Regions from separate parts of the Homo sapiens genome. Here regions 1 and 3 are each linked to region 2. Evidence: promoter capture Hi-C in human tissues and cell types (Jung and others, 2019). All regions are on one chromosome and are shown on one strand. The core of a region is centred on a gene start or on the middle of the fragment in contact, and the rest is flanking DNA. Distances in the headings are between cores, read along the strand shown. Region 1 overlaps DDX23 (DEAD-box helicase 23). Region 2 holds the start of DDN (dendrin). Region 3 has its middle 30 kb from the start of TUBA1C.

Region 1 (3,864 bases), core at 280-2,779, 150 kb after region 2:
ACTGCCTGCAACTCTGCCACTACCTGTCTGCCCTCAGACAAGTTCCTTTATATACCTGAGCTCCACCGTTCTCATCTGTACGGTAGACATACTAATATATCCACCTCATAGGGTTGTTTTGAGGGTAATTGAATTATATATAAGCAGTTTAGAGCAGTGCCTAGTACATTGTAAGTACTCTTCCTACTCATTACAGATGGCAGGAGAGCTGGCTGACAAAAAGGACCGTGATGCATCACCTTCCAAGGAGGAAAGGAAGCGATCACGGACTCCTGACAGAGAGCGGGATAGAGACCGGGACCGGAAGTCTTCCCCATCTAAAGATAGAAAGCGGCATCGTTCAAGGGATAGACGTCGAGGAGGCAGCCGTTCTCGCTCTCGTTCCCGTTCCAAATCTGCAGAAAGGTAAAGTAACTTTGTATGTTATTACATGGGAAGGGAGAGTACGTTTCAGATTTCTTCCTTCTTGGTTCTTCTGATGCCTCCAGTATTAGGCATCTACTTTTTATTTTTATTTTTTGAGACAGAGTCTCGCTCTGTTTGTTACCCAGACTGGAGTGCAGTGGTGCGATCTCAGCTCACTGCAAGCTCCGCCTCGCAGGTTCACGCCATTCTCCTGCCTCTGCCTCCTGAGTGCGTAGCTGGGACTACAGGCGCCCGACACCATGCCCGGCTAATGTTTTTGTATTTTTAGTAGAGATGAGGTTTCACCGTGTTAGCCAGGATGGTCTCGATCTCCTGACGTGATCTGCCTGCTTCAGCCTCCCCAAGTGCTGAGATTATAGGCGTGAGCCACCGCGCCTGGCCTTTTTTTTTTTTTTTTTAAAAGATGGAGTTTCACTCTTGTTTCCCAGGCTGGAGTGCAATGGCACGATCTCGGCTCACTGCAACCTCTGCCTCCCAGGTTCAAGCAATTCTCCTGCCTCAGCCTCCCGAATAGCTGGGATTACAGGCATGTGCCACCACACCTGGCTAATTTTGTACTTTTAGTAGAGACGGGGTTTCTCCACGTTGGTCAGGCTGATCTCAATCTTCCGACCTCAGGTGATCCACCCACCTCAGCTTCCCAAAGTGCTGGGATTACGGGCGTGAGCCACCACGCCCGGCTAGGCATCTACTTTTTGTACATTAATCTACTCCTAGCCCAGTTGGACCTGCAGGTGTTTTCAGTTTTCCTCAGTGACCCAACTCTTAAAAGTTGAGAGGGGGCCGGGCGCGGTTGGTTCACGCCTGTAATCCCAGCACTTTGGGAGGCCGAGGCAGGTGGATCACGAGGTCAGGAGATCGAGACCATCCTGGCTAACACAGTGATACCTGATCTCTACTAAAAATAAAAAAAAAAAAAGTTGAGAGGGAACTAGTAAGGTGAAGGTCCGGGTTATCAAGGAAGGTTCATCTGTGGCCGGGCGCGGTGGCTCATACCTATAATCCCAGCACTTTGGGAGGCCGAGGTAGGTGGATTACTTGAGGTGAGGAGTTTGAGAGCAGCCTGGCCAACATGGCAAAACCCCGTCTCTACTAAAAATACAAAAATTAGCCAGGCATGGTGGTGCACATCTGTAATCCCAGCTACTCGGGAGGCTGAGGCATGACAATTCCTTGAACTCGGGAGGCAGAGGCTGCAGTGAGCCGAGATCACACCACTGCACTCCAGCCTGGGCGTGAGAGTGAGACTCCATCTCAAAAAAATAAAAAAGGAAGGTTCATCTGTTCACATAGTCCGTGACCTGTCATTGCCGTTAATATTTAACAGTACATCTCTGATCTATAAAAGCTTCTTAGAATTCCCTCGTTATTTCCGTGAGAGATACATTCTCTAATTTGTAAAACATTACTTTGGGACGAGAGTATAGGAACTTTCTCAGGGCTGCAGTGAAGCAAGATACTTTGGAAATACCAAGTGAACTCTTAAATTTGCGGTCTTCCAGAGAACGACGGCACAAAGAACGAGAACGAGATAAGGAGCGGGATCGGAATAAGAAGGACCGAGATCGAGACAAGGATGGGCACAGACGGGACAAGGACCGTAAACGATCCAGGTACATGAAGGAATGAGAGGGGGCTTTAGGGGAATGCTCCCATTTCTTCTCTGCACCTGAGTTTGCTCAGCTTCTTATGAAAGTAGATTTCTCGCCAGGCGTGGTGGCTCACGCCTGTAATCCCAGCACTTTGGGAGGCTGAGGCTGGTGGATCACGAAGTCAGGAGATCGAGACCATCCTGGCTAACATGGTGAAACCCCGTCTCTACTAAATATACAAAAAATTAGCCGGGCGTGGTGGCGGGTGCCTGTAGTCCCAGCTACTCAGGAGGCTGAGGTAGGAGAATGGCGTGAACCCGGGAGGCGGAGCCTGCAGTGAGTCGAGATCACGCCACTGCACTCCAGCCTGGGCGACAGAGCAAGACTCTGTCTCAAAAAAAAAAAAAAAAAAAGAAAGAAAGAAAGTAGATTTCTCTTAACAGATTCTGTTGGTAGTTATTACAGAGCTCTCTTTCTTATTTATTTTTATTTATTTTTTTGAGGCAGGGTCTCTTTTGCCCAGGCTGGAGTGCAGTGGTGTGATCACAACTTACTGCAGCCTTGACTCCCCCAGGCTTAGGTGATCCACCCACCTCAGCCTCCTGAGTAGCTGGACTACAGGCATCTGCCACCAGATTTTGTTTTTTTTGGGTTTTTTTTTTTTTAATTGATCATTCTTGGGTGTTTCTTGCAGAGGGGGATTTGGCAGGGTCACAGGACAATAGTGGAGGGAAGGTCAGCAGATAAACAAGTGAACAAAGGTCTCTGGTTTTCCTAGGCAGAGGACCCTGCGGCCTTCCGCAGTGTTTGTGTCCCTGGGTACTTGAGATTAGGGAGTGGTGATGACTCTTAACGAGCATGCTGCCTTCAAGCATCTGTTTAACAAAGCACATCTTGCACCACCCTTAATCCATTCAACCCTGAGTGGACACAGCACATGTTTCAGAGAGCACAGGGTTGGGGGTAAGGTCACAGATCAACAGGATCCCAAGGCAGAAGAATTTTTCTTAGTACAGAACAAAATGAAAAGTCTCCCATGTCTACCTCTTTCTACACAGACACGGCAACCATCCGATTTCTCAATCTTTTCCCCACCTTTCCCGCCTTTCTATTCCACAAAACCGCCACTGTCATCATGGTCCGTTCTCAATGAGCTGTTGAGTACACCTCCCAGACGGGGTGGTGGGCGGGCAGAGGGGCTCCTCACTTCCCAGTAGGGGCGGCCGGGCAGAGGCGCCCCTCACCTCCTGGACGGGGCGGCTGGCCGGGCGGGGGGCTGACCCCCCCACCTCCCTCCCGGACGGGGCGGCTGGCCGGGCAGAGGGGCTCCTCACTTCCCAGTAGGGGCGGCCGGGCAGAGGCGCCCCTCACCTCCTGGACGGGGCGGCTGGCCGGGCGGGGGGCTGACCCCCCCACCTCCCTCCCGGACGGGGCGGCTGGCCGGGCGGGGGGCTGACCCCCCCACCTTCCTCCCGGACGGGGTGGCTGGCCGGGCGGGGGGCTGACCCCCCTACCTCCCTCCCGGATGGGGCGGCTGGCCGGGCGGGGGGCTGACCTCCCCCACCTCCTTCCCGGACGGGGCGGCTGACTGGGCAGAGAGGCTCCTCACTTCCCAGTAGGGGCGGCCGGGCAGAGGCGCCCCTCACCTCCCGGACAGGGCGGCTGGCCGGGCCGGGGGCTGACCCCCCCACCTCCCTCCCGGATGGGCGGCTGGCCGGGTGGGGGGATGACCCCCCCACCTCCCTCCTGGACGGGGCGGCTGGCCGGGTGGGGAGCTAACCCCCCCCACCTCCCTCCCGGACGGGGTGGCTGCCGGGCGGAGACGCTCCTCACTTCCCAGACGGGG
Region 2 (3,896 bases), core at 1,194-3,693:
GTCTCGAACTCCTGACCTTGTGATCTACCTGCCTCAGCCTCCCAAAGTGCTGGGATTACAGGCATGAGCCACCGCACCCGGCCAGCACTATCTTTAAACCTACAAATCCCTTGCCTCTTCCAAGGTGAGAATGAGCTGGATGGTGGGAGAACAGCAGGGCAGTGGTCACTCCATCAGATCCATTCCCTGTATTGAAAGCATGTAGACCCAAACAGCAGTCAGCACCCAACATCAGAAGAACTGCTAGACTGGAGTATGAGCTAAATTTGGGTGCCAGCTCACCCCAGCCTTGCAGGTATGATACAGTTTCCCATCCAAGCCAGGAGCAATTTCGGAGTCATTCCTTGCCCCTGCCCCACAGTGCCTAACCCCTCTGATAACCCTCCAGCCAGGGCATACTGGGTTCTCCTGATGGAACACAGGGAAAAGCATCAAGGCCCTCATCAGATTCGACCTGAGGAAGCTTATTTTAAAAAAAGAAGGTGGCCCTCATCAGAGCTCAGCTTTCAGTGTTGCATCATGGCTGTGGAGGAGCCCCTGCTTCTGCCTTCACCCCTTTACAGCTCTCACAGCACATTCTCAACCTTGGGGGAGGAAGGCTTCCAAGTTATTAGAATTAGAGTATGTTTATGTGTCAGGAGGGTAAGCACATGGTGGAAAGGACAGATGGCCCCTTATGTCACATTCCCTCATTAAGGAAGATTTGCCTAGGGAGGAGGCAAGGGCTTTAAAAAGCCTCAGGACTCTAGTGGGACCTAGGGTGGAAGGAAGCATCTTCGAGTCAAGTCATCAGTGCAGCTGGCAGGTGTGTGGAATCAAGGGGGGTAGGGTGGATGGGACGGGATGTTTGCGTTCTCTCTAAAGGTTTGTGTTAGGGAGCAGAGACCTGGTTTTGTTGAGTTGTTTCTCAGTCTGTCAGTCTCTGCCCCACAACCTTTCTGGTTGTTCCCCATCCCCTTAAAAGGAAGGGTCTGGACCCAAAGGGCTCCATGTACATTAGTGGAAAACTAATTGGGAACTCTTGCTTCTCCCATTTCCCTCTAAAACCCAACCTATCCGTCTCAGTGTGAGGATGAAGCTGAGGGAGAGACAAGGGATGAAATTTGGGAGACTCACAAGCTTCTATTCTTACCTATTCCTCTCCAGAGAGGCAAATTATCCCTTCTTCCCGAGGAACCATGCCCCACACACTCTCCCCTCTCTCTGCACTGCTCCCCTCCACTGAAGCTGCTGCCATGGTTGCCAGGCATGGTTGCTAAGTCTCTGCATGGAAGGGTTGGCGTGGGCTGTGCTGCCACTAACATTACCATGGTGAATCAGGGGACACCTGGTATAAGCTTAGGAGGAGGGATCATGTGGATATAAGCAACAGCCCCCCAGGACAGAGGCAGCCCAAAAGGTGAGCATCTGGAGCACCACTTAAGGTGGGGACTGAGTGAACTAGGCATTGTGGTGGTGGTGAGGGGGAGTTCTACATTGAAAAAAATAAAGGCCACTTTTATCATTTCAGTTGCTAGGGGATTAGTTTTGCCAAGCAAACACATCATTTCTCCTCCATCCCCCTCTGGAAGGGTGAGAGTGCATAAGCACTTACTCTGTCCTCCATAAAGCTGGGCAGGCTGTGTGGGCACAGAACAATATAACCCCCAAATCCTGGCTTCTGGATTGGAGGTGAAAGCCTGCTGCTGTGGGAGGGCTCCCTGGCTGCCCAAGGACAAACATGTAGAATGGAACTGGTAGGGCAGCTTGGGTGGCCAAGGCAGACGCCTGTGTCCTGCTGTACCAGCAGTCCTAGGCTGCAGCACTGAGCTGACAAGGAGATACGGGTGTAGGGGTCACCCTTTTTGAGCTTAGGGAAGGCAGCTCTCCCTCAGAGTCGCACAAAAGCTTGGTAAAAGCCACCGCCTCCTCTCTCCACCGCATGGGAGCTGGTTACTCATCTCATCTCTGCACCCGAACAGCCACTGCCGCTAAAAATAGCCCCCCAGCCGTGGGCCAGCCCCTCCTGCACCCCAGCCCCATGGAAACCAGCAGAGTGGCAGGCAGAGACCTTGAGTTCCAATCTCATCACTCTATGTTGGGGAAACTGAAATCTGAGGCAGGAAGCCAGGGGCAGAACCCTGGTGGTCAGGCAACCTGACAAGCAGGAGAGTAAAGGGTTAAAACGGCAGGAAGGTTGAAGAAATAGGGGCGGGGGAGGGGGCACTGTCAGCTTGGCAAGAATCATAAGTCCCTCCCCCGCCCACTCGTGCGATCCCATCAGGCTTGGGGGACAACAGCAGTGGGAAGGGGCGTCCAATCCCGGGCCCCAGGGGGCGGCCGTGCACATGGGGGAGGTAGCAGCGCGGAGCAGTCCGCGCGGTGTCACATGCGCGCGCACACACAGAGACAGGCACACACACGTGTGCCCGGGTATATATAGTTCCCAGTCCCCGGGCCCGCGGCTCTGCAGTGGGCGCCGGCTCCCTGGGCTGGGAGGGGGCTCCTGGGGCGGGTGGGAGGGTGGGGGGCCGGGGTGGGGTGGGGCAGGATGCTGGATGGCCCACTGTTCTCCGAGGGGCCTGACAGCCCCCGGGAGCTCCAGGATGAGGAGTCTGGCAGCTGCCTCTGGGTGCAGAAGTCCAAGCTATTGGTGATAGAAGTGAAGACTATTTCCTGTCATTATAGTCGCCGCGCCCCTTCTCGACAGCCCATGGACTTCCAGGCCAGCCACTGGGCTCGCGGGTTCCAGAACCGCACGTGAGTGAAGCAGGGGTGAGGGGAAGAGAGTGGTGGGGCGGGGAGTGGGGTCCGGACCTCCCCGCAGGCACCAGCGAGCACTGCTGGTCCCCCTTCTCTTTCCCACGCCTTCCACCTCTGCCCGCTCCCGAGGGCTGGGGCCTGACTCATCCCGTTGTTTGGGGGAACAGAAGTGGGTGTGAGAAAGGGCAGGAGGTGAGATGGGGCAGACGCTGTTAAAGTGTGCATGGAGAGATGGCGAGGAGTCCCGCTTCGACTTCAGTCCTAACATATACGCACGTGCACACGCGCACACACTCACACACACCCCTTCACATGGCTGCCCCAAGTGGTCTCCAGTGCTCCCAGCTCCCCGGACCTCGGCTCCCTTCCCCCACAAACTGCTCACCTGGGTTCCTGCTCATTGTCCCAGGTGTGGGCCGCGCCCGGGATCCCCACAGCCGCCGCCCCGCCGGCCCTGGGCCTCCAGGGTGCTGCAGGAGGCGACCAACTGGCGGGCGGGGCCCCTGGCCGAGGTCCGAGCTCGGGAGCAAGAGAAAAGGAAAGCGGCGTCGCAGGAGCGGGAGGCCAAGGAGACCGAGCGAAAAAGGCGCAAGGCTGGTGGGGCCCGACGGAGCCCCCCGGGTCGACCCCGCCCGGAGCCCCGCAACGCCCCTCGGGTGGCCCAGCTGGCAGGGCTCCCTGCTCCCTTGCGGCCGGAGCGCCTGGCGCCTGTGGGGCGAGCGCCCCGTCCATCCGCGCAGCCGCAGAGCGACCCAGGGTCGGCGTGGGCGGGGCCCTGGGGAGGTCGGCGGCCCGGGCCCCCAAGCTACGAGGCTCACCTGCTGCTGAGAGGTTCTGCCGGGACCGCCCCACGACGCCGCTGGGACCGGCCGCCACCCTACGTGGCTCCACCTTCTTACGAAGGCCCCCATAGGACCTTGGGGACTAAGAGAGGCCCCGGGAACTCTCAGGTGCCCACTTCATCAGCCCCAGCTGCGACTCCAGCCAGGACAGACGGAGGGCGCACAAAGAAGAGGCTGGATCCTCGGATCTACCGGGACGTCCTCGGGGCTTGGGGTCTCCGACAGGGGCAAGGTCTCTTGGGGGGATCCCCAGGCTGTGGAGCGGCCAGAGCAAGGCCAGAGCCCGGCAAGGGGGTCGTGGAGAAAAGCCTG
Region 3 (3,941 bases), core at 1,225-3,724, 230 kb before region 2:
GCCTAAGGATGCATTTCTCAGAAAGTATCAGTCATTAAATGACACATGACTTATATGGAAGTCACATGACATGGACCCCAAGGACTACATAATCAGTGAGGCTTCAGTAGGCTATACTGTTGATAAAGCTACTTCATCTCTTTCAGGAAAATCATCATAAGCTCATCTCTGAATACAACATTCAGTTTTGTTGGAAAGTAACTATCAAGGTTTGCCGGGTCAGAACTATGCTTGATAACATGTTTCCATTACAAATGCTTTCTATCCCTCATACCATATTTTTCCGGGTGGGTGGGCCAACTGCAATCTGCTCTAATATTCTGCTTTCTACCAGTTCTCCCAACGTTTTCTGATTATGGACTTTAACAAAGTGCAATACCGGGGAATGCAGGCTCATGCTGAAGTATATGTATAAATGTGTTTGCTAATGCATTTAGACCCTCATGTGAAAAGGGCCTGAAGTCTTCTAAATAGAAAAATCTTCAACTGAATCAGAACTGACTGAGGAGTTTGGAAAATGTTGGCAGGGCTTCATGATCTTATATCAAACCGTGGCAAGGCCACATTTTAACATCTCCCTACTCCCAGATTAATTTCATTTCTGTCACCCTCTTCACCTTGGAAACTCCTCCCATTCAGCAAAATCAGAAGCATTCAGAATAAGCACATTGTGATTTCTGTCCCTGAAACCCGCTGTGTGCACTGATGGAAAGCATAGTTTTAGTTTGTAGCCCTGTGCCCGTGGGCCGGTGGAGGAAATTAAATGAGTTGAGCCTCAGGTTTTCCTCAGAGACCAGCAATGTAACAAATGACGACTCATTGAGGCCCGAGGGCTCCTCAACACAGGCCACTTTCTTGCAGAGAGTCAGCCTGGTCTCTTTTTATTTTTTAAAAACTATGTAAGATTTTTTTTTTTTTTTTTTTGAGACCGAGTCTCACCCTGTCACCCAGGCTGGAGTGCAACTTTCGCCTCCCAGGCGAACTGTAACTTTCGCCTGCCAGGTTCAAGCAATTCTGCCTCAGCCTCCCGAGTAGCTGGAATTACAGGCGCGCACCACCAGGCCCAGCTACTCTTTGTATTTTTAGTAGAGACGGGGTTTCACCATGTTGGCCAGACTGGTCTCAAACTCCTGACCTCAGGTGATCCACCTGCCTCGGCCTCCCAAAGTGTTGGGATTACAGGTGTGAGCCACTGCGCCCAGCCTGGTCCAGCCAAGGTGCCAGCGAGTCTCTCCTGGACAAAAAATGGGGCGCTGACCTGCAACCCCGACACCTTTCCGGAAAGGGCCTTGCAGCGGCGCGGCGCGTCCAGCAGATGGCGCCCCAGCTGAATTTTCGCGAGCTGTCCTCCAAGCTTGCAGAAAAATCTGGAACTAACAGGAAGGGGAATTTTTTTTTTTTTTAAGCATTCTAATTTTCAACCTATACTGCCTTTTTGTCCGTGTCAGGAGCCCTTTTTATTCGAATAAGTTGCAATGCATTTGAGATGTCTAAAAGACTTTTTGATTACGCAATCCCAAATTAATTTTTTTTTTTTTTTTGGCCGGGCGCAGTCGCTCACGCCTGTAATCCCAGCACTTTGGGAGGCCGAGGCGGGCGGATCACGAGGACAGGAATTCGAGACCAGCCTGACCAACATGGTGAAACCCCGTCTCTACTAAAAATACAAAAATCAGATGGGCGTGGTGGCGGGTGCCTGTAATCCCAAATACTCGGGAGTCTGAGGCAGGAGAATCGCTTGAATCTGGGAGGCGGAGGTTGCAGTGAGCCGAGATCGCGCCAGTGCACTCCAGCCTGGGCAACAAAAGCAATACTCCGTCTCCAAAAAGAAAATTTTTTTTAGGATGTCCACTCTTCCAAAAGACCCAAGAGGGAGGTTTTCAAACAGCATTAATTGTCACAAGAGTTCAGAAACTTTCGCGGACAGCGATATGTGAAGAAAGGCCGCTTCTAAACAGCAGGGCGTGGCGGGGGCGCGCTCGCCGGGCCGCGGCGGAAGTGGCCTTCGTGGCGGGCGGGGCGGCGGCTGCGGCCTGGAGATAGCGCCGCCTGCTGGTCACCGGGGACAGAGCGCTCGGGGCTCGCCAGGACTGCGGCGCCACGCGGGTGGGAGCCCGAGCCCAGGCCCAGGCCCTGGCGCTGCACGTCACCGTACTAACCAAGGAAGCAAAGTCATGGACACAACCACAGCCTCCTTTCTGCTCTGCAGAGAAACCTGGAAGCCTACTCTGGTTTGGAGAGTAGTGTTTCAACGAACTTAACGGTTTTTAGCGCTTGCCACAGCTAAACAGGGTGGACTTGATTTTTAGGGTGTCCTTGTTATTTAAGACAATGCTAAAGGAGAATGAAAATTAGAACCTGGTAGGGGACTGCTTTCATTTATTCTCTCCTGCTTTAATGGGATTTACAACATATTAAAAGCAGTTATCAGAGGCAAATTGGATAAATGGGCTAGGGGTTGCGTTTCAAGGTGGAGGCGTTTGTCATTTCTGACTGTGGCCCCTCGTTTTTATTCCAGGATCGTTGCAGTGCCATTTCTAGGTCCCTCCTCCTCTCCCCACTTCCCTTTTCTCTGCACCCATTTGACAGGAGCCTCTGCAATCATCTGCTTATTGCGCGTCACCGTCATCCAGTGGGAGAGCCTTGTGGTACCACCTTTCTCCACCTATGGCTGCGGCCCGCAGGAAGATGACGGGTTGCGCTTCTGCTCTGGAGCCAGCCCTGTTGCCGGGAACTGCAACCCGCAAGATGATGCCAGAGCTCAGCTTCCCTCTTTTTATGTTGCAGAGTTTATGCTGCCCTGCACTGAGCAGACGCTTTCGCTTACGCAGCCCTGCCCTTCACCTTGCCCAGTGATTCCGGAATAACCTTCCGGACCCTCCTACTTGCAGAGGTTCGTTGCTTCAAGCGTCATAATCATTCATCTCCGTTTTTCCTCTAGTGATGAAGGCTCGTGGACGGACCACGGTTCACTCGGTCTAGGAGTCACGCTGTTGATCAGGTTGTCAGACATCAAAATTCCCATCTCCCATCAGGGCACAGCTATAGGGCTCTGGGTCAAAACAGGGCCTTCTCTTTTGTCTGGTAGCACCAGAAACACGGTAATTGGGAACCCATCAGGAATGGAAGGCTCCTTGAGGCCCTGGAGATGGAATGTTGGGCCCCCAAGTCCTGAAAGGAACCAGTGGGGCTGTAATCTTCACAATCTGGATCCAGCCAGAAGAGCACTGAGAGCTCAGTGTTTGGAGGACAAAAAAGGGCAATGGATATACAGTAACTTAGTGAATCAGGGCCCGGATCCAGGAAGATGCCTGACATTTGTTTATCAGCAGAGAAACAGAAGTAAAGGAGGGGAACCTTCTCCTAAGTGTTACTGTGTTATGAAAGTGTCCTTCAGGGAGAGGCGACATGAACAGGGCAGCTGATAACGTTGATACTGTGCAGGCACACATCTCCCCACATTCCCCAGGCTGCTGAACCAAGTGTACCAAACTAATCGCAAGGACACAGCTTTGAGCCTCCCCGGCGGCAGTCCCTGGAGAGAGTCCGCTCAGACAAAGCAAAGCGCGCTCCCAGCGGGGAGGGGTGGCCACTTTTTCTTTGTTCTCCCTTGGAAAATCGGCTGTCTCTCAAGTCTCGTAAACCAGCTGCTTTCACTTCTTGCAGGGGGTCAAAATCAATTAATCACCAATCATGTTTGGACAGCACAGTTTTGAAGCCCTGAACTCTGTGAAATGCAGGGTCAAACTATTTTTAGAATTTTAACATGCCGTTAAGTTTGTATTCTGAGTTTCCCAGCAAAAATTTCTGAAATGTGCCCCACTTTGAAAAAATAAAATAAAAAGAACACCTCCAGAAAAAAGGTGGTGGAGACAGAGTGTTTGGGATTGTACTTAACCCCAAAACGACAAGTCATACATCTTACACTTAGGAATCTCTTC

What was found. Contacts are between HindIII fragments. The study calls those that stand out against the background at their distance.
Region 1: a fragment that was not itself captured here is called in contact with the fragment with the promoter of DDN in region 2 in 2 of the 25 tissues and cell types used here (liver and lymphoblastoid cells).
Region 3: a fragment that was not itself captured here is called in contact with the fragment with the promoter of DDN in region 2 in 1 of the 25 tissues and cell types used here (spleen).

The regions. Positions count from the first base shown.
Region 1 is chr12:48,842,115-48,845,978 of GRCh38, reverse strand. It overlaps DDX23 (DEAD-box helicase 23), which reads left to right. Exons shown (of 17, transcript NM_004818.3): 2 at 197-405; 3 at 1,929-2,039. The coding sequence starts at 197. Among named protein-coding and RNA genes, the nearest start is that of DDX23, 8.1 kb to the left of the region's middle. The HindIII fragment of the contact is 6,479 bases long and covers 1-3,864 here.
Region 2 is chr12:48,997,922-49,001,817 of GRCh38, reverse strand. DDN (dendrin) reads left to right here and starts at 2,443. Exons shown (of 2, transcript NM_015086.2): 1 at 2,443-2,739; 2 at 3,152-3,896. The coding sequence starts at 2,531. It overlaps DDN-AS1 (DDN and PRKAG1 antisense RNA 1), which reads right to left and starts at 3,471. Exons shown (of 2, transcript NR_147179.1): 1 at 3,128-3,471. RefSeq lists enhancers at 1,778-2,072, 3,742-3,811 and silencers at 2,218-2,512, 3,162-3,621. The HindIII fragment of the contact is 9,489 bases long and covers 1,613-3,896 here.
Region 3 is chr12:49,232,716-49,236,656 of GRCh38, reverse strand. It overlaps a transcript of TUBA1C not described here. Among named protein-coding and RNA genes, the nearest start is that of TUBA1C, 30 kb to the left of the region's middle. RefSeq lists a silencer at 1,891-2,180. The HindIII fragment of the contact is 6,126 bases long and covers 1-3,941 here.